2 separate regions of the Homo sapiens genome follow, and region 1 is linked to region 2. The links are contacts of gene promoters, found by promoter capture Hi-C in blood cells and fetal thymus (Javierre and others, 2016). All regions are on one chromosome and are shown on one strand. Each heading gives the region's core, a stretch centred on a gene start or on the middle of the fragment in contact. The rest is flanking DNA. Distances are from core to core; before and after follow the strand shown. Region 1 overlaps SLC6A17 (solute carrier family 6 member 17). Region 2 holds the start of SLC16A4 (solute carrier family 16 member 4).

What was found. Contacts are between HindIII fragments. The CHiCAGO score rates a contact against its expected background, and 5 or more counts as called.
Region 1: a contact is called between a fragment that was not itself captured here and the fragment with the promoter of SLC16A4 in region 2, in 11 of 17 cell types (M2 macrophages, total B cells, naive B cells and 8 more). The highest score is 10.6, in M2 macrophages.

The regions. Positions count from the first base shown.
Region 1 is chr1:110,201,266-110,207,628 of GRCh38, forward strand. SLC6A17 (solute carrier family 6 member 17) reads left to right here. Exons shown (of 12, transcript NM_001010898.4): 12 at 1-937. Among named protein-coding and RNA genes, the nearest start is that of KCNC4-DT, 5.5 kb to the right of the region's middle. RefSeq lists an enhancer at 1,781-1,830. The HindIII fragment of the contact is 5,398 bases long and covers 1,021-6,363 here.
Region 2 is chr1:110,388,426-110,395,083 of GRCh38, forward strand. It overlaps SLC16A4 (solute carrier family 16 member 4), which reads right to left and starts at 2,601. Exons shown (of 9, transcript NM_004696.3): 1 at 2,440-2,601; 2 at 812-930. The coding sequence starts at 898. The HindIII fragment of the contact is 6,987 bases long and covers 1-4,971 here.

The DNA.
Region 1 (6,363 bases), core at 2,470-4,969, 190 kb before region 2:
TCAAAGGCAGGTGGGGTCACCTGATGAGCTAAGATCCAGCCCCAGAATCCTGGAGGAGCAGGAGGTAGCAGGAGAGGACCAGGTCCCCAAGTCCCTTCACAGGGTCCCCACCCCCACTGGCTTTGGTGCTGTCCACACAGTGCCCACCAGAAGGCAGAGGGAACTCCAGGGCAGGGATGTGCCTGAAAGAGTCAACAGTCCCCTGATCCCCTACCTCTGCCTGCCCTCCAGCCCCATCACCAGCTTCTTGCTCAGGGAGACTTCCGCCCTCCTCACTGAGGCAACATGAAGCCCGAGGCCCAGATGGGGGCTGAACAGGTAGGGCACATCAGTTAATGCCAGTGAGGTCAGCTTCTGCCCTCCAGCAATACATGTGCAGGGGTTGCTGCTTTCCCAGTGCCAGGAGAACCCCCGCTCCGAGTCAGCCTGTGTGGGTCATGAGGCTGGGGCCCAGGAGACACGGTCCCAGGCACTGCACAGGCCTGCAGTATTACCAGGCGGAGGGGCTGCTTTTCTGCCCTTCCTCACCCCCACGCCCCACCCCACTCCCCCAGAGTACTCCCCACTGTGAAAAGAGCTGGAAACTAAACTGGTTAGAATGAACCTGGCTCCCTGAGCATCCCTGGATCCTTCAAATAGGCCCTGAGATGTGAGGTCTGCTGCTTCACTGGGGCCCGATGACTTTGGCTGGGGGAGGGGGCCTAGGGCCTCTTCTCATTGAAAGCTCTGCTTTATACAGACCCAAGCATACACACCAGGCCGTCACTTTGGGTTCTGGCATAAGTTCAGAACAATTCAAGTCCATGTGTCCCATGGCTGGTCAGAGCCCTGGGTCAAAACCACTCAGCCCAGGGGAGGGGATGAGGCATTGTCACCCTAGACCCCTCTTCCTCTCTCCCCCACCATAGTGTGCAATAAAGTGTCTGTTCTTACCAAACCCTTCTTGCCTTTCTCACCTGCTCTTGCAATGAGGGAGAGGGAAGGGTGGCCAAGGATCCTGCGGGAAGCTTTGGGGTGAAAAGCTTGGACTGGGATGGGTGGACAGGACTGCTGAGGGGGGTTGTGGGTGCTGGCTGGCTGAGGAGCAGCGCGGGGAGTGTGCACAGGTTCATATCTGTATTTTCCTATGAATTGTCCTAGGTATTAACAATGCACACACTTGTAGAGGGCCCTATTGGGGTCCAGCGATTCCACATGTCTAATTTCCTGTCATCTTTGCAACCGTTTCCTAAGGGAGACCCTTTGCTGGCTACATTTTTCCAGGTGAAACTGCATCTGAAATTAGGATGGTATTTGGTGGTCTCTTACAGGACCCTGTAGGGGAAACTCCTGTCCCACCTGACTACCAGGAAAAGCTATACTTGTCAGCCTGGCAAGGGTGGGGTGTGTGGAGGCCCACCTCAGGGAAGGACAGGGGTGGGAAGGTGCCAGTGTTGAGAGGTCTGACAGCAAGGACCAGGACTCTCTTGGGTGCTGGGTTGGGGGGGGGGTGGGCTCCCCTGGAACAGGCATATTCTAAAGTTCTGCCCCTCTCTTCAAGATAGCTATCCCTCTTGCAAACTTCAGTAGAAGGTAAAGACGAACTAGGGGATCTGACATCACCTCTGTTCTAACATTCCAGCCCCAAGTATTCATTTATTAAACACCCACTGAATACTCAGCACTGTGAAGAACGGACTGTGCTGGTGGCTGGGAAGCTCTTCTTCCTGCCTCACCCTCTAGGAGCACCGACATTGAAAGAAACAAGAAGTCTGGCTCCTGGAGGAGGCCTCACCCCCACCCCACCCAGCTCCAGGCTGGAATGATGCTGCTTGCACTCAGACGCACACAGCCAAGGACCCTGAAGGAACCTGCCATTTTCTTCTCTTGCCATAGAAAGTGTTGTTCCAGGAATAGCCACCAGATGGCAGGAAAACCTTTCTCGCCAGATCATAGTCTGCTTGCCTTCCTCTCTGTCATTTATTCCTTTGTGGGTTAGTTTATTTGTTGAACAAACATTTATTACGTACCCACCCTGGACAGGCTCCATGCCAGCTATAGATGAATAAAGATAAAATCAGCCCCTGCTGTCCTGAGTTTGGCAGAGGGAGGGGACCGGCCCTATAACTCCACATCTCCCCATGTATCTTTCAAACCAGGAAATGGCCTGGTGCTGAAAGTCACTCCTTGTCAAGTATTCAGTCTTTTGGTTGAAGGTAATGTTTTTGGTTGAGATGCAAGCCCTCTTGCCAGGAGGGGCACACAGATCCACCAAGATGCAGCATAACAAGGGCTTTGGTTCCAAGGAGCTCTAGAGTCATACTTCTCAAGTTCAAGTTCAAATGCCACCCAGCTTCCTGCTTCCTGGGAGGCCTTGAGCGAGTCATTTAATCGCTCTGAGCTTAAATGTCCTAGTCTGTAAAACAGACATAATAAATAGATTCAATGAGATAACACATGTTGGTCCAGTTATCTATTGCTGTGTTCCAAGTTACTCCAAGTCTGAGCGGCTTAAAACAACCATTCTATCTCGCAGTTTTCTGAGTAAGGAATTCAGGCAGGACTCGTCTGAGCAACTCTTCTGGTGGCAACCAAGGTCACTCAGTGATATTCAACTAGCAGCGAACTAGTCTGGAGGGTCCAAGGCAGCTGCCCTCACATTCACTCAAATGCCGGGCACTCCAGTGAGAATGGCTGGAAGACTGAGTTCAGCTGGGCCTGCCGGCCAGAGTGAGCACCTACAACTGCCTCTCCAGCATGGCTACTTGGCCAGACTTCTGACTGAAGGGCTTAGGGTCCCCAGAGAGACCATTTCAAGAGACAGGAGGTGGAAGCTGCCAGGTTTTTAAGGCCTGGGGCTGGAAAATGGCACAGTACCTCTACCATCTTCTGTGGGTCACAGCATCTGCCCAAATAAAGGGGAGGGCACACAGAAGCCCCCCTTGTTGATGGGGAGTGGGGAGAGTCTGGCTGCCCATGTAATGGGCTGATTCTAGAGTGTTAGGGATCTTTGTCATCAGTCACCTGCACATGCATGGAAGCCTTCTCCTGAGGGGATGTCAGCTTAGAGACACAGAACTGGGACACACAGCAGGTCATTTCTGGTGGGGAGGTGAGTGGTTAAGTTTGGGCCCTGGGTGGAGGGAGCAGTCAGAGGAGGATGAGAAGGGCATGCAGGAGGACAGGTGAGGCCACTGCTTCTGCCTCAGGTTTGCCCCAGGGCAGGTGGCATGAGTGGTTTGAATCATGGGTCTGTCGCCAACCATACCACCTTGGGGAAGCCACTTTAACCCTGGAATCTCCATTTTCTGATCTGTAAAAGGAGGACGACAATAAAATCTCTTCCTTAGAGATGGTATGAGGGAAAAATGAACTTCATCAGTAACATCTACTGGAATACAGTATCGACTTCTTTCCATATGGGGATACAATAGGTGCTCATTAAATATTTCCTTCCTTCCTTCTTGCGATCCTGGGCAAGGCCATGGGGCCTACTTCATTCTGGGGGCCCCATCACCCATGCAATGAGCCATCTCCTAAAGCTATTCACAAAGGACAGTTTCAGCCTAAAATCCAGAGAAGCCAAGGAAGGAAGGCAGAAAAGGAACTCTCTCCAGGAAAGGGAGTACCAGAGTGTGGGGGTCTCACTGATCCTGTACATTATCATGTTCACCCCAGCAGTCACCACCAGACAGCTCCAGTCATAGGGACTTGGGCCAAGGCTAAAGTATTCCACAGACCACAAGGCTATTGTGGGGTTTTGTTTTTGTTTTCTTTGTTGTTGGTTGGCCCCAAATTCTTTTTAATACTTCTCCCATCAAAAGTGGAGTCTATGCTCCTCCTCTTGAATCTGGGTGAGCAAATGCTTCCTGTGACCAACAGGGTATAGTAGAAGTGATGCTATGTGACTTCCAAGGCTAGATTAGGAAAGGCCGTGCCACTTCCACCTGGTGTTCTAGGGATACTCATTCTAGAGGCAGCCAGCTGCCATGTAAGACAGCCAACCACCCTGAGACTGCCATGCTAGGGAGGCGATATGTTTGCAGATGCTTAGGTTGACAGCTTCAGCTGAGCTTCCAGCCAACAGCCAGTGTCAACTGCCAGCCACATGAACACAGCATACTGAACGTTTAGCCCAGCTGAGCTTCAGATGTTTGCAGCCCGCTGACATCTGATTGTAGCTGCATAAGAGACCCTAAGCAAGAACTGTTCAACTGAGCCCTTCCTTATTTCCTGACCCATAAAATAATAAACAAAATAAAATGGCTGTTGGGTTTATATCACTACATACTAGGGGTAATTTGTTTCATAACAATAGTAACCAGAATATGAACCTTAGTGATTATCTGGTCAAACCTCCTTGTACAACAATGGGGGAAACGGAGGCCCAAAGAGGAAAAGACCAGACTTCCCACAACCAAGCAAGGGGAAGATCGGGGCCAATGCCTGGGTTTCTTGACTCCCAATCTAGTGCACTCTCTGCCACACAGCAAGAAACTGACAGGGAGGACTCCTCCCCCGCCACCCCCCGCCTCATTAATTCCATGCATCAAGCAAGCATGAATCAGGTATTTTGAGTGCCTGGGATTGTGCTGAGCACTGGGAATATACAAAGGACCAGGCAAGAGTCCCTGGCTCGCAGAGGCAGTCACAATCTGACTTGGGCATCTCCCTTCCTGGCACACTCACTGGTGCCAGGCACGCTGCTGCATTCTTTAATTACATCATCTTAGGTGGGAAGAAACCTTGAGATGGGAGAAGACTATGCCTGTCATTCAACCACAAACCCTTACAAAGATTGATCCATGCCAGGCACAGTCCTGGCTGCAGAGCATAAAGACTCAGTGGGGATCTGCTCTCTGTCCCTGGGTCTGAGCTGCCTGGGTTCTGGGTCCCTCCATTCTGCCCAGGGCTGACCCAAGCAGGGAAGAATCCCTGGACTTCAGGAGCACCCAAGAGGAACCTGAGTTTGGCCTGTCTCTCCAGACACCTGCTTCCCCTTTCCCCAGGATATTGCTGGAGGGGACTGGGCCCATCAGGACTAATTAACTCCTCTAATGGAATGAACCAGTTTTTCCTGGAACTTAGCCCAGGTGGGAGCAATCTCTACTTTTCTAGATGGAGAAATGCTAAGTGTCAAGAGGTCTTGCCAGCCGGACCCTGGGCTAGCGTGCATGTGGCAGGCGCGGTGGCGGGAGTGTGCTGTCTGGATGCAGGCTGAGTTCCCAGCCCAGGAGCCTTAAACAAGGAGGCCTCTAGGGTCCACTCAGCTGGTGGCCCCCGTATCGTTCTCTGTCCTTGGCCCAACACCAGCCCTAGCTCCGTCTCTCAGAGTTCGCTGCTGCTGCTTAGGCCTGACATCCCTAAGCGGGGGGAAGGTGTCCATGAGCTAACACTCAGGTCCCCTCCAACCCTATGACTCCAGGTCCATAGTGTATGAGGCCCTGAGCCCTGCCCAGGCCCGAGCTTCTGATCTCTTCTCTTTAAGAGCTGGGCCTTCAAAGGCCACCTTTGAGCCCCAGATACAACTTCACTGGGATTACCACAGCAACCCAACCCTGCTTTCAGTCCTGAGGCAGAGCCATTCTACTGATCTTCACAAGACCTGAATTACTAGGGCTAGGTTCTCCCCAGAGCCCCTCCCCCACCAACCCCCCTCCCCCCAAAGAAGGCTCTCACATTTGATTTGGAGCCTGCAAGTCTCTGCAGGCTGCTTGGGGTTGGGGGAGGCAGGATGAAGTGAGCTGAGACGCAGACAGGAGGCTGCCAGCCTGCTCTTGCCTTCCCTTCTCTTGTTCCCCCATGAGCGGGGAGGCCCTATCACCCTCTAATGAGTCTGATAAAGCAATTCAATTTTCCAGGCTGGGAGAGAGTGAGGCATGCTGGGAAAGGATGCTGGCTCCTTGGCCTGGACCTGAAGGAGGGTCAGTCCCTGGCAGGAGCTAGAATACCAAAAAGGGAAAGTGTGAGCACCAATGGATAGAACCTTGCCTTGGCCTGGAGCCCCTCACCACAAACAGGTTTCAAAGAAGGAAGATGGAGAGGAGATTGGATGGCTCCAGTCATCCTAAAGAGGCTGAGCCCATACAAAGCTCCCAGTGGGGAAAGGGGAAGGGTAAACGGCTTTGATTTCAGGCTTTCAGCTTCCTACGGACAGGGTCAGCGTCGGCACTCAGAGGGTGAGGACCTTATTATGCGGGTGGAGGGGGGGCCTGGAAAGGGTGCAGGTGCTTGACAGCCTCCATCGGTGCCCCTTTAGAATCTCCCATGGCCCTCTCTTCCTATTCTTTCACCACACCCTCACCCCTGATGAGGGAAACCCGCTGTGGCTGACACCTTCTGTGAACTGGCTTTCAGACAGGTGCTCTTCCCTGACAGCCTGAA
Region 2 (6,658 bases), core at 1,351-3,850:
GTGGGGATGGATTGGGAAGTAGACAGCAGGCCAAACAGAGGAAATGTCCCCACCCCTTATCGGTAGAAGGGGCTGTGCCCACAGTGTTCTATCTATGCTGGGCTGAACTGGGGAGATCACCCCCAGAGCACTTTTTAGCACCTCCCAGTGCTACTTTTGGGATGGTTAAAAGTATGATTGTCCCCAAACCCTAATTGCCATGCAGCCAGTACAGAACTGCTGATTGTGACTGAGCATTCTCAGGTTTAAGAGATGATAGGAAGAGTAGATGACTGGATTCAGGAACACTTCTGTTTGTTTGTTTTGAGAGAGTCTCTCATGGTTGCCTAGGCTGCAGTGCAGTGGCACGATCTTGGCTCACTTCAGTCTCCACCTCCTGATTTCAAGCAATTCTCCTGCCTCAGCCTCCCAAGTAGCTGGGACTACAGGTGCATGCCACTGCACTCAGCTAATTTTTGTATTTTTGTAGTGATCGGGTTTCACCATGTTAGCTAGGCTGGTCTCGAACTCCTGACTTCAAGTGATCCACACACCTAGGCCTCCCAAAGTGCTGGGATTATAGGTGTGAGCCCCCACACCCAGCCCAGGAACATTTCTGCTTTTGCTCTAGGGGCATTTTCAACTTTCTCCTGGGTTCGGCATGGGCCTCTGACTTTAGCAGTTTTTGGCAGCTCCTGGCCTTGTTCCTGCCCACCCCTCCACTCAGATGCCAAAGATTTCCTAAGTGATCCTATTCGTAGGCAGCTCTGAGCCTTTCTCCAGAAAGCCTGCTTTTAGGCAATAGGAAAGGGGGAAAAAAGTGAATTCTTACCAGGAAAAAATGAATCACAATCATCCATCCCCATCCTCCATCCAGGGTTTTAGTGTAAGGTTGGACCTTCCCCTCCCTCTTCAGCATGATGCCTCTTCTATTTTAAATGCAGAAGATCCCTGTGATAAATCCAAGACAGTTGATTCAGTGGACCAGAAACTAATCTAAACTTTTAAACTTTTTATCTGAAAGGGAACGTTCATACATTGTTGGTGGGAATGCAAATTAGTTCAGCCACTGTGCAACGCAGTTTGGAGATTTCTGAAAGAACCAAAAATTGAACTACCATTTGACCCAGTAATCCCATTCCTGGGTATATACCCAAAGGAAGATAAATTGTTCTACCAAAAAGCCACATGCACTTTTATGTTCACTGCAGCATTATTCACAATAGCAAAGACATGGAATCAACCTACGTGCTCATCAACAGTGGGTTGGATAAAGAAAATGTGATACATAGACACCATGGAATACTACACAGCCACCATAAAAAAGAACAAAATCATATCCTTTCCAGCAATATGGATGCAGCTGGACCATTATCTTGAGCAAATTGATGCAGAAACAACCAAATACTGCATGTTCTCACTTATAAGTGGGAGCTAAAAATTGGGTACATATGGACATAAAGAGGGGAACCACAGACACTGGGGACTACAAGATAGGGAGGGAGGAGGGTTGAAAAACTCCCTATTGGATGCTGTGCTCACTATCTGGGTGAGGGGTTCAATTATACTCCAAATCTCAGCATCAGACAATATGCCTTTGTAACAAACCTACACATGTACCCCCTGAATCTAAAATAAAAGTTGAAATGTAATACAAAACAGAAAAAAAACCTCTTTCCCTATGATATAAAACCACTTGTAATTTTTTTTTAACCCCTCAGTTACAGATGAAGTCTGCCTGATGCAACTAAGGACTTAGTTACCTGGAAAGCCTGATCTCAGTGACTGTGGGGTGGCCACTCCTAGAACTGTACTCAGTGTCCCTCCCCCCAGGTCTGCAAGCCAGTTTCTTGGAGAAGCTGTGCGTCACCCTGCTGGTCCTCCGGGTGAACTCTTAAGAGAAATAGAAAGGGAAGGCGAGCCTTGAGTTTAGGAATTCTCCTTAGAAAACACTTGCTAAATGTAAATATTTTTGGAGCTAAACAGACATGACAACGAAATGCGATACCCGCTTATTGAATATATCCTAGATCAGAAAAAAAAGTTGTAAAAGACAGTTTGTGGGGACAGTTGGGGAAATTTGAATATGGACTGTATAATACAGAATACTGTACCAAGGTTAACCTCTTGGAACCTCTTCCACAAGAGAATATTCTTAGGAGATACATGCTAAAGTATTCAGGAGTAACATGACACTATGCTACCTTCTCCCAATCGGTTCCGTAAAATAAACAAGTGTATATAAAGAATGATAGCAAAAAGAAAATGTAAATGTTCTGAGGAAGGGGGAACAGTACTCATTATTTCCCCTGTCGGGTCGAAGGCTGACTGTTTCTAACTGGAAAGGAAAGTCAGCTGGCAGGGTATGCGGAATGGCCATCTGGTGAGCAGGCTGGGTGGGGAGAGATGCCAGTCGTTGTTAGAAAACCAACCCAGCACACAGTCCCATTCCCATCTTACCTTTGATGTGGTGTTCAGCAAAGAAATCCTCCACAGATGGGGCAATTAAGGAAGAAAAATAAATTACACCGTTTTCTGGAATGTTACTCTTTTTCTAAGGCATTTCATTTTGCTGCATTGTGAAAACAAGTGAGCATTGTAAGAGCCAAGGAGGGCTCAGACGATTTAGGCCCTCCTGCTAGTGGACTTTACTTCCTGAGGGGAGGAGGAAAGACTGTGATTTGATGTCATCTCAGGCCCTCCCTCCACCCACAGTCACTCAGAAGGTAGAATTTTTTGCCGCAGGCTCAAAAGCAAGCATGAAGTAAACTAAGTGGAAAGTCCTTTTGGCGACTATGCTCAGGGCAGGGGGATGGGGCTCCAGAGCTCTCATACACTTGTCTTCAAATTTCCTCAGGGAACTTCTCACAACATGCTTATTTTACAGGAGAATATAAAACTCCTGGATGGGTGGTGAGAGAGGCATTTCCTGGGCCACAAACAGAAATCTTCAGTAAGCTCAACCCATTCGTGTGGCCTTTTGTATATTGACTAAAGATTCTGGTTACTAATTTGGGGTTTCAGACCCCATTTTAATTGCATTTTTGAGATCTGATTACCTCAACCACCTCCTGCAAAAGACGTATGCTCGTAGTAATTTTAATGAGATTTTTTTTATTATATTTTGGAAATGGTTAAGGCTGAGACCCCTAGAAAATTACTGGGATAATTCAACTTTCTCTTCCCATTTCCTCCCTCTACCCTCCACATAAAACAAAACAAAACAAACAAGTCAAATGGGAAATTGTCTTTCGTCTCCCACACCAATATTCCAGATTTTAAACCAGAGTATATTTTAGACGAAAGGATGTGTTTTTAGTTTTATCTGGAAAATCTGCACATATTTATGCATGTTCCTTTTTAAGAAGCAAGAGGCTTCTCAGATTCTTAAAATCAAACTCTATAATACTTTTTGATTAAAGTGCTTGCAGAAGGACAGCTTAGTGGTTTGGGAGGGTGCCCTGTAAGTGTAAGCATGGAAGGATTATGCAGTTACATGATGCTGGTGGCAAGGATCAAATAAACATTCAACAGAAGGAGAAAACCCAAAGAGAGAAGGCAAATAAATGCTTTTCAGAGAGCTGTTTGTAATTATGAATACACTCTAGACAACTTTTTTTTTTTTGAGACAGAGTCTCACTCTGTCGCCCAGGCTGGAGTGCAGTGGTGCAATTTCGGTTCACTGCAACCTCTGCCTCCCGTGTTCAAGTGATTCTCCTGCCTCAGTCTCCCAAGTACCTGGTACTACAGGCGCATACCACCACGCCCAGCTAATTTTTTGTATTTTAGTAGAAACGGGGTTTCACCGTGTTGCCCGGGCTGGTCTCAAACTCCTGAGCTCAGGCAATCCGCCTGCCTTAGCCTGCCAAAGTGCTGGGATTACAGACGTAAGCCACCGTGGCCAGCCTGAAAACATTTTTTAGTAAACAAGACTGATTTATTTATTTTTTTGGTGGCACGCTTGTTGCTCTTTTAAAGCAGGGCTATCTATGATTTCTTTTTTTCTTGAGACAGGGCCTGCTCTATTGCCCAGGCTGGAGTCAGTGGCATAATCATGGTTTACTGCAGCCTTGACCTCCCCAGCTCAAGCAATCCTCCTACCTCAGCCTCCTGAGTAGCTGGGACTACAGGCATGCACCACCATGCTCAGCTAATTAATTTTTTTTTTTTTTAAGAGATGGGGGTTTCACTCTGTTGCCCAGGCTGTTTGCAATGTCCTGGGCTCAAGCGATCCTCCCATCCTGACCTCCCAAAGTATTAGGATTACAGGCATAAACCACTGTAAGGAGCCAGCTATCCATAATTCTAATCACAGGATGAAATGATGCTAGGCTATATATATATTTTTCTTACACACACACACACAGAGGAATATATATATACACACATATACATATAGGAACATATACAACTGGGAAGTTAGATTTCAGGAGGGTTCCTACCATTCCTTAAATGATAATAGTGAATCATTGTGCCTAACCTATGTAAACAATACATTATATATGTGTGTATATATTCCTATTCATCTTTGTCTTATAATAGGCTTTATATTGATAGAGAACTCTGATGCTAATGCCTGGGGTCAGATTTGAAATGCGGCAGAACAGCAAGTCATTCATAGAGGCCAAGAGGACAGCAAAGTAATCAGAGATGAACTTCAAACATATGTTTCATAGAGGCACATGAACAGAAATGCAGGCTTGGTGATAATCTCAATTTTGTCAGTTTTTAAGCCCGTAGACTCTGGGCAATTTACTCTCTTTGAGTCTGTTTCTAAAACTCTAAAGCGTAGCTAATATTTTGCAAGGTTGTTGTGAGGATTAACAATATATAATGTAAGATGACTGCACATTGGACCTACTATTGGTACTTGGTTCATGAAAAATAATTTTTGTTAGTCAAATGAGGCCTAATAGCAAGAAGAAAGAATTCTTAAGCCACCTTTGGGATATTAGTTAACATTTTGGCATCTGTACCCAATTGTCTTAATAAAGCTTGTAGGGTCTTTAACGAAACATAAACAATTCCCTCAACTTCTAACCTTTTAACTCTTGGCCCTAAAGCTATTCAGCAAGAATGCAGCATGATTTGGCAATCACCACTATTACCCCCATCCCAGTGTCAAACATAGCCAGCCCAGGAATAATTTTTAACACTTATGGATTTAGACTTTAATAAGCTTTACCAACTAGAATTAAGATACTTTATTTTTAGTTGACTCTCTCCTTGCCCTCATTCAATCCTTGTTCAGAAAAGAGTTAACATCGCTGGCCTGAGATTCCTATTCTTTGAAAGGCCTGTTTACATGGTTGGCCTCTGGCTGGCAACTGGGAACTTAGATTTCAGGAGGGTTCCTACCATTCCTTAAATGATAATAGTGAATCATTGTGCTTAAACTATGTAAACAATACAATTTTTATGCTGAACATTTGCTTTTTTCGGGAGCTTGGAATTTTGATATGTGCTAGGCAGAGAGGGTACTTTGGTGACCAGCCCCCTTGGGCACTGAGTCTCTACTAAGCTTTCTGGATTGGCAACATTTCACACATGTTGTTACAACTCATTGCTGGAGGAATTAACTGCATCCTGTGTATCTTCACTGATAGAAGAATTCTTGCAAGCTTCTGCCTGGTTTCTTCTGGACTTTGCCCCATCCTCCTTTTGCCTTTGTTGAGTCAGCTTTGTATCCTTTCACTTTAATAAACCATGTAAGTACAACAACTAAATGCTCAGTCCTGTGAGTCATCCTAGTGAATTATCAAACCTGAGGGGTTGAATGAGTCTGGGTTCTCGAGAAAGAATAGAATATTCTCCAGAGCAAGAACCAGTGATGGGGGAGGAGATATTAAGGTTGATTTACTATGAGAATTGACTCACATGATTATGGAGACTGAAAAGCCTGCACTCTGGTCAGCAAGCGGGACACTCAAGAGAGTTGATGGTGTAGTTCCAGTCTGAGTCCAGAAGCCTGAAAACCAGAAGTGCTGATGGTGTAAGTTTTAGTCTGAGAGGGCCTGAGAACCAGGAGAGCCATTTGTGTAAGTTCCATTCTGAGTTTGAGTCCAAAGTCAGGAGAAGACTGATGTCCCGACTCCAAGACAGTCAGGCAGTGAGAAATTCTTTCTTAGCCTTTTATTCTATTCAGGCCTTTAATGGATTGCATGAGTTCCGCTCACATTGGGGAGGGCAGTCTTCTTCAGTCTACTGATTCAAATGCTGATCTCATCCAGAAACACCTTCACGGTTACACCCCAAAATAATGTCTAGCCAAATACCTGAGCATCCCATAGCCCAGCCAAGCTGACACATAAAATTAACTATTATAGAAGTGTCCTGGGACTCCCTCATACAAGCATACTTCAGCTTTGGCTCTGTACAGACTAGAAAATGAGCCTTTTCCAGCCTCAAGCTCTTTCCAGCACATCTTATGTTTCATTGATAAATTGGATACATTATATCCTACCTCAAAGGGTGCTGTGAAGAATAAATGAGAATGTATGTTCATTTATTTCATTCAATAAAAACAATTGCTTCCTATGTGCCAGACGCTGTGCCAGAGGGGGATATGTGGTAGACACAGGGTGGCATGAGATGTGGCCCAAGGGGTTAGCAGGGCTTGAATTATGCAGGGGTTGGGAGGTCATGGTTAGAACTTATTTTTTTTTTTGGATACAGGGTC